Regions from separate parts of the Homo sapiens genome. Here region 2 is linked to region 1. Evidence: promoter capture Hi-C in 16 types of primary human blood cells and fetal thymus (Javierre and others, 2016). All regions are on one chromosome and are shown on one strand. Each heading gives the region's core, a stretch centred on a gene start or on the middle of the fragment in contact. The rest is flanking DNA. Distances are from core to core; before and after follow the strand shown. Region 1 holds the start of PDE4D-AS1 (PDE4D antisense RNA 1). Region 2 overlaps ARL15 (ARF like GTPase 15).

Evidence for each region. Contacts are between HindIII fragments. The CHiCAGO score rates a contact against its expected background, and 5 or more counts as called.
Region 2: a fragment that was not itself captured here is called in contact with the fragment with the promoter of PDE4D-AS1 in region 1 in 1 of 17 cell types (monocytes); the score reaches 5.7 in monocytes.

Annotation. Positions count from the first base shown.
Region 1 is chr5:59,037,441-59,042,194 of GRCh38, forward strand. PDE4D-AS1 (PDE4D antisense RNA 1) reads left to right here and starts at 2,326. Exons shown (of 2, transcript NR_198970.1): 1 at 2,326-2,630. PDE4D (phosphodiesterase 4D) reads right to left here. Exons shown (of 15, transcript NM_001104631.2): 6 at 1,419-1,531. RefSeq lists a silencer at 1,695-1,764. The HindIII fragment of the contact is 4,461 bases long and covers 1-3,701 here.
Region 2 is chr5:54,303,073-54,307,826 of GRCh38, forward strand. All of the region lies in intron 1 of ARL15 (ARF like GTPase 15), which reads right to left. Among named protein-coding and RNA genes, the nearest start is that of ARL15, 5.1 kb to the right of the region's middle. RefSeq lists an enhancer at 1,600-2,263. The HindIII fragment of the contact is 5,398 bases long and covers 1-4,754 here.

The DNA.
Region 1 (4,754 bases), core at 1,076-3,575:
AATTATGAAAACAAACTATATTTTATAAAACTAAGAATTTGTTACTCAGATGAGAATAAAGGTGCCTAATGCTACAGCAGGGGGTAAAAGTCCCAGTAAGAGAGCAATAATTGGTCATTCTGATGAGGAGCTGTGCCAAATTTAGAAATGAGGCACAAATGACAAAAAAATTGATCATCAGTGTGGACATGGGTAGGTCAGTGTGCATATGGGTAGGTTAGTATCTGCTGGCCGTGTCTACAGAGCCCCTTTTATTTATTTGAAGCCAACTTTTCACTTGACAATGCTACCTACAAAAGCACTGTTAATAGATAAGACAATCAAGTGGCTGTTATGCCGTGGCCTTTTTGTAAAAACTGCATGAGAACAGGTGGGATAAAAACCATAGAAAGGTAGAAAAAAAAAAGCATCACTCATTTAAAGATATGTGCACATAGATGAACTGTAAGATAATATAACCTTCTTGACCTTGTAAATAGGTGGCCAAAAATACTTAAATATCTTGACGAGGCAACTATTACTAATTGTCTCACAACATTACCAGTCCTTACTGGCTGAATCCTTCAGCCATCTGCATACGACATGCACAGGCAAATAGCCACTAAAAACATACACAATTCCAATTATCTCCTTGCATAACTAAAGACAAAAAGAACAGGAAATCCAAAAAATACAGCAAAACTGAAAACACTATACCTTGCCTTCCGTGCTATTTTAAGGCTGTCCCAGGCTGAAGGTTACTTCTCAGCCCTCAAAACTCCATTAACTGCCAAGACCAGCACCTTAGCACATATGGCACAGATGCCTAGTTGAAGCCTCCTTGTACTAAATGACCTCAAAAAACTGGGCTTTCTTTCCAAGATTAATGGAAACAAAAGTAATGATCATAAGGAACCTTCTAACTCTGTTAATGTTTCCTGCGGATATGTATGGCCAACTGAATATATAAAGGCTCAGTTCTTGCGGGGTACCCTGACAACTAGATGAATTAGGGTGAAGGTTCCAAGTTCGATGAACTCTTCTGAGTTTGAGTGCCCTAGGTGGTGACATTCAAGTGATTTCACAGACATCCACCAATTCTTATTTTCAACCGGGAATCCCAAGAACACCTTTAAACATGCAATGCCCATGGACCCTACTGGGTTTCTGCTGCAAGGGCTCAGTGTTACTTAGGAACCCTGTGTCTTGGGAGATACTTAAATTTAGCACGTCAAATTGCTTTTGGAAAATGTTTATCTGGCGTGACTAGGGGAGGCAAAGCAAGGAAACAGGAACCTCCCTCTAAGGAGCAGAATAGCCAACATGCAGTAAGCCTAAAAAACCTCTCAATTTATTTCCCGGGGCTATGGGTACCAGTGGCTCGCCGGCATGGGAATCAGCAGCCTGGGGGCACCAGTGACAGCAGAACCGGGGCTTACCTTGTTGGAGGCCATCTCACTGACGGAGTGCCTGGTCTGTAGGGTCTCTAGCTGGTCCAGACACCAGTCCAGCTCCTCCAGGGTCTCGCTGGCCAGTTTCTGGTAGGCCTCCTCTGCGAAGAGACAGGGAAAGGGGGACTCAGTTCTCAAGCGCTTCACGGGTCCGCTAGCGAGTTCAAAGGGGGCCATCCTGCCATACCCCGCCATGCTCGGATGCCCGGTGCCGGCACATGAGGGCTGCTCCTTCATATTGCCCAGCCCGGCAGTGCAACGGGGGCGGAGGCTGTGCTCGCGGGGCGGCCGGCCTCGGGGAGGCACGGTCTCTCCAGCTTGGCGTCTCGGGTCGGCCTCCAGGGAGGGCGTGCAAAGAGCGGCGAGCCAACTTTCACACAGCGACGCGAGCGGAAAAACCACTATGCGACTTTTCAACTGTGCGGCGGGCCCGAGTCCCAGTCCAGGAGCCCGGCTCTAGCGGATGGCGAGGGGGTGGCGAGCGCGCTTGGGTGCCCGCCCCGCAGAGGAGCGTCTGGTCCACAGCCGGATCTCCTCGGTCCCCAACCCGGAGCCGCGGCCCCACGCCCGCCCCGCCTGCCGAGCCTTCTGCACGGCACTTGAAGTGAATGAATCAGCCGCGGCCGGGTGCGCGGCCACCACGTTTCCTGTTTTCTTTCTCAACTCCTCGGGCGGCAGGCGCAGCGCGGCTCCAACGCCGCAGCTTTCCGGGAACACTCCCCCTCACGCCCCTCTCGGCCCTCGGCGCTGCCTGGCTCCTCCTCAACCCCCTTACGAAAAGATTCCGAATTGCAAAAGCCTGTCCCTGTCCGTGCCACCCGCCGCGTCCTTCCCCTCGAGCTCTGCCCCGGGGGCCCCGCCACCTCGCAGTGCCATCCCCCCGGCGCAGCCGGGCGCCACTCGCTTTGAAGTGCAGACGAGGAGGCGCGGGCGCGAGCGTGTGTGTCTGTGGGGCTGCTGTGGGACTGTCTGTGCTAGGAGAGCGGCGGAAAACCCGGCGTGGAGCGCCTGCAGTCCGCCGTCCGGGGTCGCGCCCGCCGCGGGGCTCAGGAGGGACCGGCACGCAGGCGCGCACGGCCGCGCACCTGTCTCGCTAGAACCCCGCGCGCCCCGCCGAGCCACTGCCCTCCAGGTTGCCCAGACCGCTGGAGCCTCTGCGACTCCACGACCGGCTGCTTCCTGCGAAGTTTCACAAACAAGGTTATTTAGGACCCTCAAGGTTTCTGAGGGTTTAAGTTTTAGGGTTTCTGGGGGTTCGTTTCTAAAGGCTTAGGATTCACCTACTTCAAGGAGGCAGGGTTGTGGGAATTAAGACCGCATTCTTTTTCTACCCAGCCCAGTCCCTACTAAGTACCAGACTTCTAAATGTTGGGGCGGACAGAAACAAGCAAACAAAATATACAATGTTGTGGGGTCGGAACGCTTTATAATTCACAAATTTGACAATAGGCTGCATTTTCATATGCCGAATTGCCTAAGAGTTCTCTTAAAGGAACAGCAATGTGAAAGAACCACATGGTAAGGAGAATTTACGCATGTCCTGCATACTACTCCTTTCCCCTGTGAATTGCATAAGACCTAGATGATCTTGGGCCAAGGAAGAAAATCTGGAAGGGTGTTTCTACCCACCATGTGCAGAGTACACTACAATTTTGAGAAAACGGAAAGACCATATTCAAAGGCATACAGAAAAGCCTGTTCTGTTTACAAAGGCTGACCCAGGGCACCAGGGACACTGTCCCTAAGCAGATCAGTTGTGGGAGAACTTTTCTACATTAGCATGCAATAAGCAAACCATTCATAGTGAGGAGAAGTCAAACTCCCAAGGGTCCATTTGATAAAACTTTGTCATTGTCGAGTGGAAAGAAGATACTGAGAAACTTACACTAAGTGGTGGGATCCCTTGTCTTTGTCTTTGAATCTACAGGTATTGGAGAAGAAATTCTGCCCTTGAAATTTAGACTCCATAAATTAACATGGCACAACAAATAAAGTTCATGGACTGAATTTAGGCTCCTGGGATTTTTGAGATAGCTTTTTATGTGAACTTTGTAAAAGTTAGAGTAACTTTTAAAGTAGTTGTTACATGTGCCACGTGGCTTATTGTTATCAAGAATACTTGAACTATTTACTGTTCACTTTGAGTACTCTAGGTTAAAATTTGCCTCTTTTTTGTTCTACTTCCTCCACCCCGCAGTCTATGTAAATATATACTTTAGATGGACAAACAACTGCCTAAACCTTGCCAGGTGAATTAAAGTTTCAGATTGAAGCTTTTTTTTCCCCCTTAACAAGCTTAAAGATATTAATAATTTTAAATGGTAAATATAAAATACCTGCTCTGTATAGCTTCCCCAATTCTAAGAATGTAAAAAATATTACATGCTTGTTATAAAAATTGAAGCATTACACACAAATATAGGAAGTCCATTGTAACCCCACACCCTAAAGATCACAAACAATACTTTCGCCTATGGCTCTAACACAATCATTTTCATTTTACTGAATAACTTCCATATGCAAGTATAGCATCACCTAGTTGCCATGGTAGTGCATCTACTATATGGTTTGGTTTTGATATTTTCCTCTCTCTCTCATTCCCATAATATAGGAATGTAGGAAATTTTAAGAGGACATTGACTTGTTTTATGATCATTTGAGCTGTCCATAGTTAGCCTATCCAGTGGATTAAAGATGCATAACCATTGTGTCTGGGATTTGTTCAGTGCCATCTTTTCAATCATTGGTTACAATGAAGCTGGGAGTCCCCTCTGAGGTTCGGCTTTCTGTGGCTCCTCTCCCCTGCACTCCAACTTTCTCAAAGCCTGAGCCTCAAGTGATTTCCCAGTAGCTAAGTAAACTGCCCCCTTCCTCCATCTTCACCAAGTTCCCAAAGCTGTTCAGACTCAGGCTTCAAATCTAACAGGATGTGGCTCCACACATTATATTTCAGTTGTTATTTTTTAATGTGGAAAATAATTCAGGAAAGTTTTGGCTAATGCTTCAAGACATCATGCACTTTATACACAGGATTTGTTCTTAAGAAGGTAGTATAGTGACAGGAGGAACAATTTACTTCAGAATATCCATTTTATGTCCAAGCCATGCACCAGCCACTTTTGACAGACAGGATTTGAGTATGATGATAAAATGGGGTAAGCATATATTTTAAGTTCTAACATCTGTATAAATAAGAAAAATGAAAAATCACTGGAACACATCTACATGCTAGTGAGAAAATAATTACTAACAGAGTAAAGTTTGCTCTGTGAAACTGTTGCTCAAATAAAGAATTATTCTTGATATTAGCATAGAGCTGAGAAT
Region 2 (4,754 bases), core at 1,423-3,922, 4.7 Mb before region 1:
GAAATAAATCCTTTTATAAAGTTAATACCATCAGGAGATTTTGCCCAGCTGAAGTCCATAAGCAACAGGCTGCTTATGGCCTAGTATCTATTGGGAACAGCTGACTTCCCAGGCAGTGCGTGGCAAAAGAACATAGCACAGTCTCAGTACCTCTTCAAAAGAAATGGGGCTGGGCACAGTGGCTCACGCCTGTGATCCTAGCACTTTGGGAAGCTGAGGTAGGTGGATCATTTGAGGTCAGGAGATTGAGACCAGCCTGGGCAACATGGTGAAACCCCGTCTCTACCAAAAAATACAAAAACTAACCATACGCCTGTAGTCCCAGCTACTCAGGAGGCTTAGGTGGGATAATTGCTTGAACCCGGGAGGCAGAGGTTGCAGTGAGCTGAGATCAAGCCACTGCACTCCAGCTTGGATGACAGAGTGAGACCCTGTCAAGCAAGCAACCAAGAAAAGCAAGAAACAAACAAACAAACTGGGACTTGGGGCAGGTAGGAATGTGCCCCTGAAAGTGACACTAGGGGACTGAGTAAGGAGATCGCACCACTGCACTCCAGCCTGGATGACAGAGTGAGACCCTGTCAAAAAAAAAAAAAAAAGAAGAAGAAGAGGAGAGGAAAAAAAGAAGAAAGAGGAGGAGAGGAAAAAAAGAAGAAAAAGGAGAGGGGAGGGGAGGGGAAAGGAGGGGAAGGGAGGGAAGAAAAACGAAACAAAACAAAACTGGGGCTTGGGGCAGGTAGGAATGTGCCCCCAAAAGTGACACTAGGGGGCTGAGTAAGGAGGTTGCCTGAAAATCTATATGTGGTCACCTGGTGGAACACTAGATGCTGAAGATCACCTCAGTGGCTATGACCAGGGTATGGAGACTGTAAGGCAGGAGTTCCCAGCACACAACATAGTTCTCTTCCTAGCCAGCCTTCTCTGTAACAATCACCTGCCAGAGTCCTTGGGGACAAGGGCGCATCAGCCTGCCTGCTCATGGCCACTGCTTTCTTTAACATAGTAGTGGTCAAGGACCACTTTTCTGTACCTGTTTACTTAAGAAGCAATATACTAAAAATTTTGAGTGCATCCCAACTGCCTTAACACCAAGCTGCCTGAGCCTCTGCCTAGCACAAGGGAACTACTTGTAGGTGGAAGGCAATGAAGAGGGAGGGCCCTGGGGCCACAAGCGCAGTTCAACTACTTGCTAGCTGTGTGAACTTGAGGAAATTACACAACCTCCCTGAGCCTCAGTTTAATGCTATTACACATGCAAAGCACTTAGAACACTGGCACAGAGTAAGTGTTCAATAAATGTTAACTGATTTTGCCCTCCTGATTATAACTCATATACTTATCTCCTCTCACCCCCGACCTGAGCACTGCCCACATGCCAACAAGCATGTGGCTTTGGCATCTTTCAGAATGCAAGCCCCTGGAGGGCATGAATCAAGGTCCCTATGTGTCCTCTCCTAGGGCTCATACTGTTAGACTGGAGCCACAGAAGTTTGGGAACCAGACTTAACACCTTTGTAGAAAAGTTCCTACCTAATGGTACGGATTTGCTCAAAACATTTTTGCTATATGAACTCCATATATGGTAGATCTGTTTATTGTGCTCAGATAATTTTTATCTTATAAATTATTAAGAAAGGAATATTTAATATGACTGCCTAATCCACTCGACATTTAGACTAAAAAGTGACCTACATTATCACTTTAAAGTTAGTCACAATAAATACAACTTACAATGTTCATAGATATTCAGGGTTAAAAACAACGAAACAATGTACTTTTTTTTTTATCAATAAAGAAGTTCAGTTCACAGATAACTGAACATAATATGAAATCACAAATGTACCTTCACTCCTCTTTTCAAGTAGGATCCTTTACAATTTCATAGTGCCTGTGGGCTCTACCCTTTGTAGCACATCATGGGTTTCTATTGTTGGTTAGTTAGCTGGTTTTTATCCTGCAAATGGTGACAGATTTGTGATGATCAACCCAATTCTCTCACCACATCTTCCCCACTGAGACATACATTTTTATGATGGCAGATACAGCCTATAACCAAGAAACTAAATAGGTCAAGTCCACCAGTCTATACAAAGAAATCTTATTAAACTAACCTATCAAATCTAATCTTATTAAATCCCAAACACTGGCAGGGCACGGTGGCTCACTCCTGTAATCCCAGCACTTTGGGAGGTCGAGGCAGGTGGATCACCTGAGGTCAGGAGTTTGAGACCAGCCTGGCCAACATGGTGAAACCCCGTCTCTACTAAACATACAAAAATTAGCTGGGCATGGTGGTGGGCACCTGTAATCCCAGCTACTTAGGAGGCTGAGACAGGAGAATCACCCCATTGCACTCCAGCCTGCATGACAAGAGCAAAACTCTGTCACAAAAAAAAAATAAATAAATAAAAAATCCCCAACACGGTACAGTAGTTTCCCCTCATCCATGGGGGATATATTCCAAGTCCCAGTGGATACCTAAAACCACAGATAGTACTGAGCTATCATAGAACTAACTAACATAGCACAGAGCACACTATATTTTTTCCTATACACACACACCTATGATAAAGTTTAATGTGTAAATTAGGCATAGTAAGTGATTAATAATAACTAATAATAAAAGTGAACAATGATAACAATATACAGTAATAAAAGTTATATGAATGTGGTCTCTCTCTCTCTTAAAATATCTTATTGTACTTTACTCACTTATTTTGAGACCTCGGTGGACCATGGTTAACTGAAACCTTGAAAAGTAAAACCGTGGATGGGAGGGTGGAGGCTACTATAAACAAATGCAATGAATATTAATTGACAATTAGCATCCAAGACTAATCAACCATTTTTACTTGTCACATTTTCAAGTCTAAGTTTATATTTTAGTTCACAATAAAACACACAAAATGAGAGAAATGTACTAGAAAGCAAAGAAGCACATCAGAAGCTACCCCCTCCCCTATGTGCCTTACTTAACCTGTCCTGCCACAGGTTCCTCTAGAGCCACACGACTGCCAGTCCTGCAGTCAAGGAGGATATTACAGCTGAGGGTTCATCCCGCATGACTTTCAGGGCCATGCAGAAAGTAAGGGCTCCATAAATATTTGTTGAATAGATAAATTATTCAAATGGGTTTTATTTTCGTAGCTTTTAAAAGATTCTTAAAAGAGTCTTGTGACTTCCTGCTTGTTGATTACAACTCCCAGTATTTCCATAAATTGAGACTAGTTTAAAAGGTATTTCAATACCACTAAGCAGTAACAGTCATTCTACAGGAGGTATAAAAGTAACATCAGCAACATAATCACAATACGTTAACTTTTTTTTTTTTTTTTTGTCTTGAGACGGAGTCTCACTCTGTCGCCCAGGCTGGAGTGCAGTTGTGCGATCTCACTGCAACCTCTGCCTCCTGGGTTCAAGCGATTCTCCTGCCTCAGCCTCCCAAGTAGCTGAGATTACAGGCATGCGCCACGACACCCAGCTAATTTTTCTATTTTAAGTGGAGATGGGGTTTCTCCATGTCAGCCAGGCTGGTCTCAAACTCCTGACCTCAAGTGATCCGCCTGTCTTGCCCTCCCAAAGTCCTGGGATTACGGGCGTGAGCCACCTCGCCCAGCCACACAATACGTTAACATTTTATATTTGAAAAGCAACGTACTGTTTACAAATGGCTTTCCCTCCACTATCTCATTTAATCATCATAGGTATTACACAGAGTACAACCAATTCTACCACTGTTGTTTTGATGGCGCAGAGGGAAAAAAGGTTAATTCCAGATCAATCATCACATGAGTCAAGACAGAAAATTTTGAACTGAAAGGAATCTAGAAGTTGATCTTGTCCAACCTCCCAGGAAAACTCGAGAAATGTGTTTTTCTCTTTCATTTTAACCTGACTATTTTCTCCTACCTTATCCAAAAAGCTCTGCACATTGTGTTACTAGTTCTACCTATGAGAAGAAAGAGTAAGATGCTGGTACTGCCTGTTGGGACAGCAGCTAAATGTTTACCCAGAGACTTGGCAGATGTAAACATGGCCTTTAAACCCCATCATGGAAAGGGGAAAAGTTGTGTGCCCTTCTAGGAAGATTCACTCATCAACTGGAAAACAGAGATTTTTATGTTTAAATTGCCACCCTGGCTAAAAGGATTATATCTTGATCATCTTCAAGTTAAGAGTAAAGGATACATTCTGCATTCCCCTGAACAAAACACCTAATCCAAACAGATTTTATCTTGTCTCAGTTTAAAAACTGGTGAAAAAAAGCAGAATTTTCCTTTCCATTTCATATTCATCTGATTCAACAAATAAAATATCGGGCCCTAACTATTAATACATGCCAGAAACCAAGTCAGGCACCGCACCAGGTGATACATCTAATTGATTAGGATTAGCAAATTTCTATTCTTTCTCTCGACTGAAATCAATAAAACCCTGTCTTAAATATTAAAGTACTATCCCTGTCCCTCACCTTGACTGTCACTTCTGAGAACATTTGTTTTAAGAAATCAACAGCGACCCGAAGATCAGTAGAGCTTCTTCATCTGTTTTAATATCTCAATCTTATTAAAAGGATTAATCCTGTTAAGACAAAATAGCACCTCCACCTTTCTCTCCCTTCTTCCTTTCCACTCTCCTCCAAATAAAAAGGTTAAGTGACGACATCCAGCCCAAAGAACAATGAACAATAGATACATACACACACACAGCTCTCTCTTCCAGTTTCCAACAGGAACAACACAAGAAAGTCAAAT